4 separate regions of the Homo sapiens genome follow, and all the other regions are linked to region 1. The links are contacts of gene promoters, found by promoter capture Hi-C in blood cells and fetal thymus (Javierre and others, 2016). All regions are on one chromosome and are shown on one strand. The core of a region is centred on a gene start or on the middle of the fragment in contact, and the rest is flanking DNA. Distances in the headings are between cores, read along the strand shown. Region 1 holds the start of PLK3 (polo like kinase 3). Region 2 has its middle 4.1 kb from the start of LINC01144. Region 3 overlaps ZSWIM5 (zinc finger SWIM-type containing 5). Region 4 has its middle 28 kb from the start of LINC01144.

Region 1 (3,154 bases), core at 472-2,971:
CACAGGCTGCCACCTCCACCTTCACACATGCATGAACAGCCCATCATCCCTTCCCATTTATCTCATGCACACATCAGGCAGTCACCTTGCCTCCCACATACATATGCACTGTCTATCACGCATGTCATCTGTATCACACACAGGGCCCCTTTCCTCAAAACTCACTTCTTCCTCTGCTCCGGAGGCTCCAACCGGGCTGCCAGCCCAAAATCCCCCACCTTCAGTTCCATGTTCTCAGTGATGAAAAAATTTCCTAGATGGGGCAAGAGAGGTGTGTCAGATTCTTTCCTTCCTCCCTCCCTCCCTCCCTCCCCAACCTCCCATCCTCCAGGCTCAGGAGTCTCACCCAACTTGAGGTCCCGGTGCAAGATGCCGCGCTGGTGCAAGTACTTGAGGCCAGAAAGGATCTGCCGCAGGTAGTAGCGCACTTCTGGCTCCAACAGGGTGTGCCGGGCCTTCCAGATGTGGGCCAGGGACTGCAGAGAGCCACTGCCTCAGCCCCTGGTGAGCCCTCCCTCCCCCTCCCCCTCCATCTGTGCTCCCTGAGGAAGAAACAGGGCCCCAGCTTTGGGTCTTAAGACTGTCTTCTCGGCTGGGTGTAGTGGCTCACGCCTGTAATCCCAGCACTTTGGGAGGCCAAGGCAGGTGTATCACAAGGTCAGGAGTTTGAGACCAGCCTGACCAACAGGGTGAAACCCTGTCTCTACTAAAAATACAAAAATTAGCCGGGCGTGGTGGTGCATGCCTGTAATCCCAGCTACTCAGGAGGCTGAGGCAGGAGAATTGCTTGAACCCGGGAGGCAGAGATTGCAGTGAGCCGAGATCGCGCCACTGCACTCCAGCCTGGGCAACAGAGCAAGACTCCATCTCAAAAAAAAAAAAAAAAAAAAAAAAGACTGTCTTCTCTCCCTCACTCTCATCCCTGCGGGAATCACCATCTTTCACCTTTCGGCTGCAGAGCTCCAAGAAAATGTAGATGTTGTCAGCGTCCTCAAAGTGGTGCGAAAAACGCACGATGTGGCGGTGCTGCAGGTCTCGGTGCAGCTCAATCTCATTTAGGATCTGCGATGAGGGCGCGGAGTCGTCATCCTTCCATGGTTCCCATGCCACCGTCCCCACCCCACCCCTCGCCCGCTGAGCCTGGACCCACCTTCTCGCGCTGATGCGGCTTGGCGACGCGGCTCTGCGGGATGACTTTGACAGCGTAGGCGCTGCCAGTCTCTGTGTCAGTGGCCTCGTAGCAGCGGGCGAAGCCCCCCTGTGAAGAGGGGGCATCAGGCTGGTTGTTCCAGGGGGGCCGAGTCTGGCCCGCGGGCGTCCCCGCGTTGGGGGTCAAGTGCCCACGCCCTGCTCGGCGCCAGAAAAGAGGCCGGCCGGGACCCCCACCTCCACCATCACCACCCCGCGGACGTCCCTCGGCCCACCTTGCCCAACAAGCGGCCTTTGAGGTAGGTGCGGCCGCTGCGCGGGTCCGTGATGAGGCGCCCGGGGTCTGACGTCGGTAGCCCGGCCAGCATCTCCAGCTCAGGTCCGCGCAAGGCACTCGGAGGCGGCCCGGGCCCGGCCGGGGGAGCGGGCGCGGCGGCCGCACGCTGGAAGGGGCGCGGAGACAGGAAACCGGCGGCAGGCTCCATGCGGCCGGCGCGTCGCAGCGCGGTCCCGGCTTCTCGGTTCCGCCCGGCCCCGGCCGCGCGTGGCGCTGCCTGGATTTGCTACGCTGCGCTGGCGCCCAGGGGAGCCCAGCGTTTTATCAATGAACGCCTGCCCCCTCCCCGGCGTCTGGTCACCGAGAGTCCCGCCCCCTTCCTAGCAGCGAGTCGAGGAGAGGCCACTCCCATTCCCGGCCTTACATCACCCAGAAGCTCCTCCCCCACCCAACGCACTGCCAGACCCCGCCTCCTCGCCGCGCCCCGGGGCGCAGCCCGGCAGCTAGTCACCATGCAGGTGCAACCAGGCCGCAGGGGCCAGCTGATCCCTGTCCGCCTCTCACCCCTCCTTGGCCACTGCGAGTCCCGCTCGTGGGGGCCTCTTTCTTTCCCCATCCTTCGGGATGTGTGCTGAAGTCCGAGTGGGGCCCGGGCATCTGGGGGCGTCTCCCCAGCAACTAGATAGATCAGCGTTCCAGCCAGCAGCGGAGAGGCAGGGGCGGCGCTCGCTTTTGCCCGGGCATGTTACCCGACACTCCCCTTTCAGTGTGCCGGACCGCGTGTGTCCCTCGCCCTCGCCCGGGGCCCGGCCCAGTGCTGCCCTCTTTAGGGCCTGGAAGGAAGGCACAGTCTCGCGCCTGGCTTGCCTGGCCCGAGGGCTGCCTTGCCAGGTTTAGGAGTCAAGCAGAGTCTGGAATTTCAAGGCTTTTACCATGCTCCAGGCCACATCTTCCGCTACCCACTTCTACACTCTTGAGGGGCAAATTTCGGGTTCCTCCGGGGTCCGCAATTCCCTTCCTCTGAAAATACCCCCGGGCCTGGGTCAGCAGCCAGAGGCCAGAAAGTGAATGGGAATTGGATTTTCTTTTTTCTTTCTTTCTTTCTTTTTTTTTTTTTTGAGACAGAGTTTCGCTCTTGTTGCCTAGGCTGGAGTGCAATGGCGCGATCTTGGCTCATCGCAAACTCTGCCTCCCAGGTTCAAGCGATTCTCCTGCCTCAGCCTCCCGAGCAGCTGGGATTACAGGCATGCGCCATCACACCCGGCTAATTTTGTATTTTTTTTTTTTTAAGTAGAGACGGGGTTTCTCCATGTTGGTCAGACTGGTCTGGAACTCCCAACCTCAGGTGATCTACCCGCTTCGGCGTCCCAAAGTGCTGGGATTACAGGCGTGAGCCACCTTGCCTGGCTGGGAATTGCATTTTCTCAAATGCTAGACACGGGCACTTGGGCAGCTAGTCTCTGGACCACGTGGACCCCTAGACCCCTGCGCAATGCCCACCCTTCCCAGGGCCAGAGACAGAGGCCCAGGACCACAGGCCTCCTGGCCTTGTCTCTCACCTCTCTGCCCTCCCTCTGTGCCAGCCAATCAATTACCATGCCATTCCTCAAAGATTTATTGAGAGCATCTGCTAAGTGCTGGACACTATCTCGAATAAAACTAATCAAGCTTGCAGCCCTCATTTAGTTTACATTCTGCTTGATGGAAACAGACAATAGGCAAGCAGAT
Region 2 (3,094 bases), core at 129-2,628, 510 kb before region 1:
CAATTAAAAAAATTTTTGGGCTGGTCGTGGTGGCTCATGCCTATAATCCCAGCACTTTGGGAGCCCAAGGCAGGTGGATCACTTGAGGTCAGGAGTTCGAGACCAGCCTAACCAACATCATGAAATCCCGTCTCTACTAAAAATACAAAGATTAGCTGGGTATGGTGGCGTGCGCCTGTAATCCCAGCTACTCAGGAGGCTGAGGCAGGAGAATCGCTTGAACCCGGGAGGCAGAGGTTGCCTTGAGCTGAACATCCCTCCTTCTTAAACAATTAGTCATTTTATTTTAGGACTAAATTTACCATTCAATATTTTTTTTTTTTAGTAAGTGCTTTTTTTTTTTTTTTTTGAGATGGAGCCTTGCTCTGTTGCCCAGGCTGGAGTACAGTGGTGAAATCTCGGCTCACTGCAATCTCCACCTCATGGATTCAAGCAATTATCCTGTCTCAGCCTCCTGAGTAGCTGGGACTACAAGCGCATGCTGCCATGCCTGGCTAATTTTTGTATTTTTAGTAGAGATGGGGTTTCACCATGTTGGTCAGGCTGGTCCAGAACTCTTTACTTCAGGTGATCCACCCACCTTGGCCACCCAAAGTGCTGGGATTACAGGCATAAGCCACTGCTCGCAGCCACCATACAAGATTCTTTCTCGTATAACATTATTTCTCTTTAAGCTTTCTTACCATAAAAAACCTTTTTTTTTTCTGTCTTTACATCTCTTTTTATTTCCTGGTTTCTTTTACCTTGTTTTATTCACAACCTTAAAATAATCTTTGAATTAGACAAAACTTTTTCACCTTTTTTAAGAAAGTTCACACTTTTTAAAATCAAGAATGTTTTCCTATATTATATATTTTATTGGAAAATACCCAAATAATGAAATATCTATTAATTTAACTTTATATTATAAATTAAGACAAATTTGTCTGCCAGTATTTATCCCATTACATTTACCTAATTTTTTTATTTTAATGGTTTACCTAGATTATGAAAACCACAAGTCATGATTTTTTTTTTTTTTTTGAGATGTAATTTCGCTCTTGTTGCCCAGGCACCTGTAATCTACTGTAATCTCCAGTAGCTGGGATTACAGGCACATGCCACCACAGCTGGCTAATTTTGTATTTTTGGTAGAGACGGGGTTTCTCTATGGTGGTCAGGCTGGTCTTGAACTCTTGACCTCAGGTGATTTGCCTGCCTCATTCTCCCAAAGTGCTGGGATTATAGGCGTGAGCTACTGCACCCAGGCCCAAAAGTCATGATTTAAAGTTATGAAACCGCTGGGCGTGGTGGCTCATGCCTGTAATCCAGCACTTTGGGAGGCCGAAGTGGGCAGATCACCGGAGGTAAGGAGTTCAAGACCAGCCTGGCCAACATGGTGAAACCCCATATCTCCTAAAAATACAAAAATTAGCTGGGTGTGGTGGCGGATGCCTGTAATGCCAGCTACTAGGGAGGCTGAGGCAAGAGAATCCCTTGAACCAGGGAGGCAGAGGTTGCAGTGAGCCGAGATTGTGCCACTGCACTCCAGCCTGGGTGACAGAGTGAGACGCCATCTCCAAAAATAAAATTAAAAAATAAATAAAGTTATGAAACTGCCATTGCAAAATTATAACTGAGACAGTGAGGAAGATATGACCTAACTGACTCCATCTTGCTTCTAAACTCCAAGCTGTCGTTGTTCATTCCTGGACTTTGGGAGAAATTTAGTTTATAGTTTAGCTTTGAAACAAAGATGGTAACAGTCCTTTCCCAAAACAAACCTACCTACCATCTGTGGATTAGACTGCCTAAAGCCACAAAATTAGAGGTTATGGTAATTTTACTAAATAATTCAAGATATAACTACATTCATTAAACCAATATCAACATCTTATTTGTTAAAGGTTACACAAGCAAGATCATTCTGTCTTGGGCTGCGTTTATAGTTTTGTTACCCCTATGCCAAATTTTGACACCTTATAATATTTGGCAGGGATGAGTATGAAATTGCTTCATTAATACATGCAAAGAAAAATGTAGGCGGGCAATTCTTAAGATGTTTCTAATATTACCTTACCATTAATTTTAAAGCAAGCTTATTTATTAAAGATTTTACTTAAGTTACATAAACTTGAAAGAGCATTTCACTAGTCTTTTGTAGTATATGATTTAAGCGCTTTTCATTGTTTTAAGCCAATTAATTAGCACTCTTTTATATATTTTTAGTAGTGAAACACTGTGTACACAACACATAAATACACAGACATATTAGGCATGCTTTAGAACTACATTTTACAGATTTATGAAAACCTTTTTTTCCCCTATATTAGACTTTCAGATTCTTGATGACCTATTTCATAACCCTGGGCAGTTTTCAGCTAAATAGCCTTAAATTTGCATATTAAAGGAAACAACTTAGGTGAAAGTCAAATAGCAAAATTTACATTATAAGGTCGGAGAGAAAACGTTTGGTGTGCTAGAGGGAAATTAAAACAGATTTAATTGCCAATTAAGCATAAAATCGTAGAAATTATAAAGGCCTTTTAAATATATATACACACACACATAGACACACACATAAACAAATATCCTATAGCTTTTACTTCAGAACTTTTAGCCATGAGATAAACACAAATTCACCACCCTGCAAAAAGAACTTGTTGGATGCAGTGGTTTTTATCTTAATAGAAAAATAACAGCAGATTTAGAGCAGGCAGAAAAGAAAAAAATCGAGAAAAAGAGCACTTAGGAACTCTATAATTTGCAGGTCGATCTTAGGGCTCTTTTTCCTTAATGTAAATGTGCACAAAGACCATATTATTTCCATTTTACATAAACTTTGGCAAGTAGATGTGCCATACAACCTATGGAGTGCTGGAAAGGGGGTCATTCTCTTTGTTTCCTCCTCATTCTTATATTGTTTCCCAATTTTTTTTTCTCTCTTAATAGGAGGAACTGAGCTGTGGCCCAGGTTTTTTGATTGCTATGTGCTGCTTGTGGGCAGGATGCTACAGTGTGTCATCGCTGAGTCGTTTCCACCCTCTTACATGTCTCAGTTTCTCTCTCCAGAGGTTTATGACCCCAGAAAAGGCTCAAAAGGCTGGGCGATCAG
Region 3 (3,125 bases), core at 402-2,901, 400 kb before region 1:
CAATTTCTTTTTGTTTGAAGAGTGAATAGATCTCTCTTCTTCACTCTTTCTATTCCCCACACCAAGGCAAAGAGAATGGGGAGGTATGACTTTTTGGATGTAATAATTTCAGAAATGTGTTGTCCTAATTTAAGTTTGGAGAGGAGAGGATTGTTAGTAAATCTGGAACAAGCGGTTTTAGAGGGAGCGTTTGAGGGACAGACTGTCAGAGGCAATCTATAGCCCTAGCCGATTGAGTCTCGATGAAATTAACACTGGGAAAAAAGCCCCAACAAAATACTGCATGTTTCAGACAGTTTTAATTGTCTGCGTTAGGATTTTTCCCCTGGACCGGTGATGCTTGGGAATCTAGGCTGCGGACTAACAATAACCGAAGATGGAAATGTGACAGCTTCTCCTCCACACCCCCACCCAAGGAAAAAAAAAAAAAAAGCCATACAATCTGGAGTGGGGGTGGGGTCTCTCTTCCTTGTCAGACTGGGGTAAATCAAAAGCTGGTCACGCTGGGTTTTTCAAAAGCTTCTCATTTAACAAGTCCTATTTGCTTTTATCTTTTTGTTATGGAAAAATATATTATACAAATGATTTCTTCCTTTACTCCTCCGGAGCTTCTAGTCAGTTTGTTAATCTTATTAAATATATAAATACAGTGCTTCTGATTTGTGGAATGGTTAAGGAGAAGGATAAAAAAATGATTAACATTGACTTTGCTATGTGGAAAATTAAAACACGAATTTTTTTCTATTTGGATTATTATGGCATTCTGGAAGTACATATCTTTATGCGTTTTATTGTACACTATATGCTCGTATTAATTGAAGAAAATACTGATTTTTGAAAGGAGTTGAAGGGAGGTTGTTTTTAGAATTAAACAAGCACAGAAAGACACAAACCCCAGACATCTAGCTCTCCAGGTAAAACCTGGAGAAAACATTTGAAAAATGTTTTTCTTTGAATCGTGCTGTTTCATATAAAGTAATCTGCTTCTGGTTATTGAGAATCATTGATTCCTGTGTTTCTAACCAAAACAACAGCATACCACAACTTGTTTTGCAAATGTGAAATGTAAATTTATCCTGTGCCAGAATATAGTGACAGTGGCTTGAGCAAGTTTTGTTTATTTGAAAGAGGTTAGTCCTTTATTTGTGTATATTTTTGAAAGAGTGACTTGAATAAATATGTAATTAAGGTGTACAGCTTTAATACTGAAACACTGAAAACATGAAAATAAATACAATCATTTTCCTATTAGTCTGTAAATTTTAATTTTTCTGAGTTTCGATCATTTATTTAACTTTTAAGATTCTTGTTTCAAATATTTTAAATGGAAAAGGATCAATTTAAGTGGTCATTTTATAGTAAGAGATGGATGAGGAAGAATTTTCAAACTTGAGGGAACAAATAAAAGAGAGGAAGAGTTTTAAAGAGGTGTCTATTTTTAAAGTAACTAAAGTGTCACTTTCCAAATGAAATAGGATATTTTGGGTAATCTAGATCATGTTTAAATCAGATATTTCCCCTTTATAATATGAAAGTTAATGTGGTTCTGGAGTTATAGGCTCTCTTATGGTAGTTTCAGAAGACACATATAAACAAACATGTTTTCTGATTGACTTGAGAAAAGACACATATAAACAAACATGTTTTCTGATTGACTTTGGATTTCAAAGACGAAGACCGGTGAATAAATTTATCACTTTAAGTTTATGCTACTTGAGAACCACGAGCTGTGTAATTTTTATTATTCTGACCTTAATTTAGGTTAATAAGTATAGGAGAGAAGGATAGCCTGTTCTGCATCTTTTTGAGTTCTGTATTTTGGTATGAACCACCTTTAATAGAGACTCATCCCCCATCTCCTAAACTTAAAGTTATAAGTAAATGACTTAATCTAGAGAGTAGGCTTTCTAAAAGTATTGCCAAGAGATGAGTAAGGAAGTGATTCGTATATACCAAGATAGTAATCGTGTTTTTCAGTTTATAACTGCACTTCAAACTCAATTAATTACTAAGTGATGCTAATTAAGAATTCTACATATTTCCTTACTGTTTCTAAACGATAGAACCTCAGATTTGGGAAGTTACTGAAGGCCGATGCTTTAGGAAGAACAGAAAGTTGGGGTATTTCTGTGACAACATCTTTTTAAGAAAAAGAGTCATAAGGGAATTTAATGAAAAAGGGAATTTAAATGAAAAAAGAAAGCACAAACAAAAAAGCCTTCAAGGCAAATAAATTAAAAACAAACAAAAACTTGTGGAAAGAGTAGGTAGATTAAATTCTGTAATTTCTAATTACTTTCCACACAAAATCTGGTAATGGGAAGTCATGAATTCTGGTTAAAAATTGGATACTTCAGATTTTAAATCAAAACTAAAACTTTTCCAGCTATGCTCAAAGGATACATTTCTTTTATGTAAGTACTGCATCAGAAGTAGTATTCCTTTTAAAAGGGGAAAATTGCAAATTAGTCTCTTCAGGGATGTCTGTAAGTTTAAAGCTATGTCAATAGACTTACAGTCTGATCTCAGTATTGTAAAGGTTAGAGTATGAACTCTATTGAAAACATATGAATGTTTTCAGCATCTGCATTTTTAACTTGTTTCAGAAGCCCATGGATATAGTAGTAGTATAAACTTTGGGAAAATACTTATTCAGGAGTCTGCAGATGGCATAAGAATAAGACACCTATAATTTACTAACGGTTTTAACATTTTGACCCTTTTGCTATCCACTGTATTTTAAATTGATTTCTTTGTATTTGGTAAAACTTAAAGAAGCTTTGCTTTTTCTCAGGAAAATCTGAATTGATTGAAGGAAAAAAAATTAACAGTTTTTCTCACTTAAACACAGAAATGTTATATTTACTTGGATATTTAGTTTTAAAAATTGGCTAAAGGCATGCAGGGGCCTTCTGCGCCTGGTACATCTTAGTTATGTACGTATTTATCCAGAAATTTTAAGTAGATTTTGACAGGTGACTTCAACAAAACCCCATAGTTTTAGTCTACACATTTTTTAATAAGTACATGATTTGTTCTTGAAGTCTTCAAGACTAGAACCAGAATGCTAAGTATTACCTTATGTGGAAGAGGTACAATTACAAAGTCAATAATGGAAATATAAA
Region 4 (3,007 bases), core at 403-2,902, 480 kb before region 1:
TTTCTTCATATACCTTCAAGTTATTGTCTAGTGTTTCTTCATTTCACCTTGCAGGACTCCCTTAAGCATTTCTGGCAAGGCTGGTCTAGTGGTAATTAACTCCCTCAGCTTTTGTTCATCTAGGAATATCTTAATTTCTCCCTCACTTTTGAAGGACAGTTTGTTTGTTTGTTTGTTTTGAGACGTAGTTTTGCTCTTTTGCCCAGGCTGGAGTGAAGGGGCATGATCTCAGCTTGCTGTAACCTCTGCCCCCCAGGTTCAAGCAATTCTCCTGTCTCAGCCTCCCAAGTAGCTGGGATTATAGGCACCCGCTACTACAGCCAGCTAATTTTTGTATTTTTAGTAGAGATGGGGTTTCACCGTATTGGCTAGGCTGGTCTCGAACTCCTGACCTCAGGTGATCTGCCCACCTCAGCCTCCCAAAGTGTTAAGATTACAGGCATGAGCCACCATGCTTGGCTGAAGGACAGTTTTGACAGATATAGAATTATTGGTGTACAGTTCTTTTCTTTTAGCACCTTGAATATATCAGTCCACTGCCTTCTGGCCTCTGAAGTTTCTAATGAAATATGTGCTGATAACCTTATTGAGGATCCCCTGTGATGAGCTGTTTCTTGCTGTTTCAGGATTCTCATTTTGTATTTGGCTGTTGAAATTTTGATTATAATGTCTCAGTGTGGGTCTCCTTGAATGCATCTTACTAGGATATCATTGAGCTTCTTGGATGTTTACATTCATGTCTTTAATCAAATTTGGGATGTTTTTTGTCATTGTTTATTCAAATATTCTCTCCTTCTCCCTTTCTCTCTCTTCTTCTTCTGAGAATCCCACAATATGTATGCTGGTCAGCTTCATGGTGTCCCAGAGTTCCCTTAGGCTTTGTTCACTTTCCTTCAACTTTTCTTTTTTTTTCTGTTTTCCAGACTCACTAATTTTCATTGTCCCACCTTCAGTTCACTGACTCTTCTGCCTGCTTAAATCTGCCTTTGAATTCCTCTAATGAATTTTTCATTTCAGTTATTGCACTTTTAAGCTTCATAATTTACTTTTTGTAGATTAAAAAAAATCTATTTATATTACTATTTTGTTCATACATTGTTTTATTGGCTTTCTCCACATCTTCCTTTAGTTCTTTGAACATATTTAAAACTGTTGTTTTAAAGTCTTTCTTGCCAGCACAGTGGCTCATACTTGTAATTCGAGCTACTCAGGAGGCTGAAGAGGGAGAATCACTTGAGCCCAGGAGTTCAAGGCTGTAGCGCACTGTGATCACACCTGTGAAGATCCACTACAGGTGGGGTGCGGTGGATCATGCCTATAATCCTAGCACCTTGGGAGCTGAGGCAGGAGGATCACTTGAGGCCAGGAGTTTGAGACCAGCCTGGACAACATAGCAACACTCTGTCTCCGCAATAAAAATAAAAATAAAAAAATAAGGGCCACTGCACTGTGGTCTGGGTGACAGACAATGAGACCCTATCTCTAATAAAATAAAATAAAGTCTTTCTCTAGTACATCACCCATTAAGTCTTTTTCGGGGACAGTTTCTGTTGATTTATTTTTTCCTTTGGGCCATATTTTCCTGGCTTTTAAAAAATGTTTTGTGATTTTATTGTTGAAAACTGGACATTTGCATCTAATGTGGAAACTCTGGAAATCAGATTCTCCTCAGGGTTTGCTGGCATTTGTGATTGTTTTTGTTTATTTATTTATTTTTTAAATTTTATATGCAGTGTTTGTGCCAAAGATCAGCCTGAGATGAAAACTTAAGGTCTTCTCAGGTCTTTTCTGAAACTGCACCTTTTCCTAGGCATGTATACTTTTAAATTTTAATTTATATATTTTAACATACAAAAACCACTTTATATGCAATTGTTTTTTAATGTCCTAGTCTTCAGTGTCTGGCTCCCAAAAGGGGAAAAAATGAAAGAGAGAAGAAAAGGATCCTGGGCCTTTAAATCCCCAGGAAGTCACTTCAACTATAGAGGAGGGACTTGTGGCAATGGAGGGAGGTGCAACAACAATGGCCCTTTGACTCTCTGCACTTCTGTTACCAGAAGCAGTAATCAGCAATCAGAGCACAGATCCCTGATATTTGGAGAACAGAGCCATCCTGGCTCCCACAAGCTATGTGCAGGTTGCTCCAGGAACACATCATATCATTCTCCTTGTTGGTGGGAGATGGGTAGCTGCTCCTGTGGTAACAGTTGAAATTTACTGAAATTAACTACAATTTATCACCAAGTCTTCCCCTGGAAGTTGCAAGCTTTCAATAGACTCTGGATTTCCAAAACTGTTACATCAGACAGAATCTGACAGTGCAATTGTTGTCTAGGTGGGGAGATATATTCTTGGTTCTTCCTACTCTGCCAACTGCCCAGAATCATCTCCAGATTTTTGTTTAGATAGAAGTGCAGGTTCCACTCTAAGAAAACCTTGGGGATGTAGGTATCTGAGGGAGTTTGTAGGTCTTAGAGTGGAAGTTCAAGAAGATACAGAAGAATGATTGGGGACCAAAACAAAGAAGGAGGCTGGGTCAGTTGAGAGGATGTATAGAACAGGTAGAGAGTTACAAGGAGAGTTAGAAAGGTAAGGTGACACCTTTGGGTGGAATTTATCTTAAGCATTCCTTGGTGAAAGAGGTACACACAGGCCAGGTGTGGCTGAGAGTCTTCCTGTAGTGATTTGGTAACAACAGGGTACTGGACTCCTGCAGCTTCATATGTGGGTGCAATATAAAAAGAGGGGGTTAGGTGGCCCAGAGCATCTGTCCCAGGGTCACATGGTCACTCAGACCCAGGGCCCAGTTTGTGGGGGGTCCCTGCCTCCCTCTCCAGTCTTCATTGCACTCTGCTGCAGACCCAATAGCCTCCTTTTAGACCCTCCATCATGCCACGTTCTTCCCTACCATAGGAGGCACATGCTCTCTGCCTGGGATGCCCTTAGTCTTCCTTCGGATCTTGACTAAAACATCACTTCTTTGGATATACCCTAGATCCCCCACCAT

What was found. Contacts are between HindIII fragments. The CHiCAGO score rates a contact against its expected background, and 5 or more counts as called.
Region 2: a fragment that was not itself captured here is called in contact with the fragment with the promoter of PLK3 in region 1 in 17 of 17 cell types (naive CD4 T cells, erythroblasts, naive CD8 T cells and 14 more); the score reaches 24.5 in naive CD4 T cells.
Region 3: a fragment that was not itself captured here is called in contact with the fragment with the promoter of PLK3 in region 1 in 1 of 17 cell types (non-activated CD4 T cells); the score reaches 5.4 in non-activated CD4 T cells.
Region 4: a contact is called between a fragment that was not itself captured here and the fragment with the promoter of PLK3 in region 1, in 1 of 17 cell types (M1 macrophages). The highest score is 5.4, in M1 macrophages.

Annotation. Positions count from the first base shown.
Region 1 is chr1:44,798,944-44,802,097 of GRCh38, reverse strand. It overlaps PLK3 (polo like kinase 3), which reads right to left and starts at 1,721. Exons shown (of 15, transcript NM_004073.4): 1 at 1,425-1,721; 2 at 1,151-1,258; 3 at 946-1,062; 4 at 347-476; 5 at 166-253. The coding sequence starts at 1,634. RefSeq lists enhancers at 1,045-1,094, 1,865-2,254, 2,305-2,364, 2,049-2,717 and a silencer at 1,485-1,764. The HindIII fragment of the contact is 10,835 bases long and covers 1-3,096 here.
Region 2 is chr1:45,306,509-45,309,602 of GRCh38, reverse strand. No RefSeq gene overlaps it. Among named protein-coding and RNA genes, the nearest start is that of LINC01144, 4.1 kb to the right of the region's middle. RefSeq lists an enhancer at 3,011-3,094. The HindIII fragment of the contact is 1,403 bases long and covers 677-2,079 here.
Region 3 is chr1:45,202,432-45,205,556 of GRCh38, reverse strand. The region is part of intron 1 of ZSWIM5 (zinc finger SWIM-type containing 5); the gene reads left to right. Among named protein-coding and RNA genes, the nearest start is that of ZSWIM5, 2.6 kb to the left of the region's middle. RefSeq lists an enhancer at 1-374 and a silencer at 1,474-1,674. The HindIII fragment of the contact is 2,259 bases long and covers 522-2,780 here.
Region 4 is chr1:45,274,290-45,277,296 of GRCh38, reverse strand. No RefSeq gene overlaps it. Among named protein-coding and RNA genes, the nearest start is that of LINC01144, 28 kb to the left of the region's middle. The HindIII fragment of the contact is 1,233 bases long and covers 1,036-2,268 here.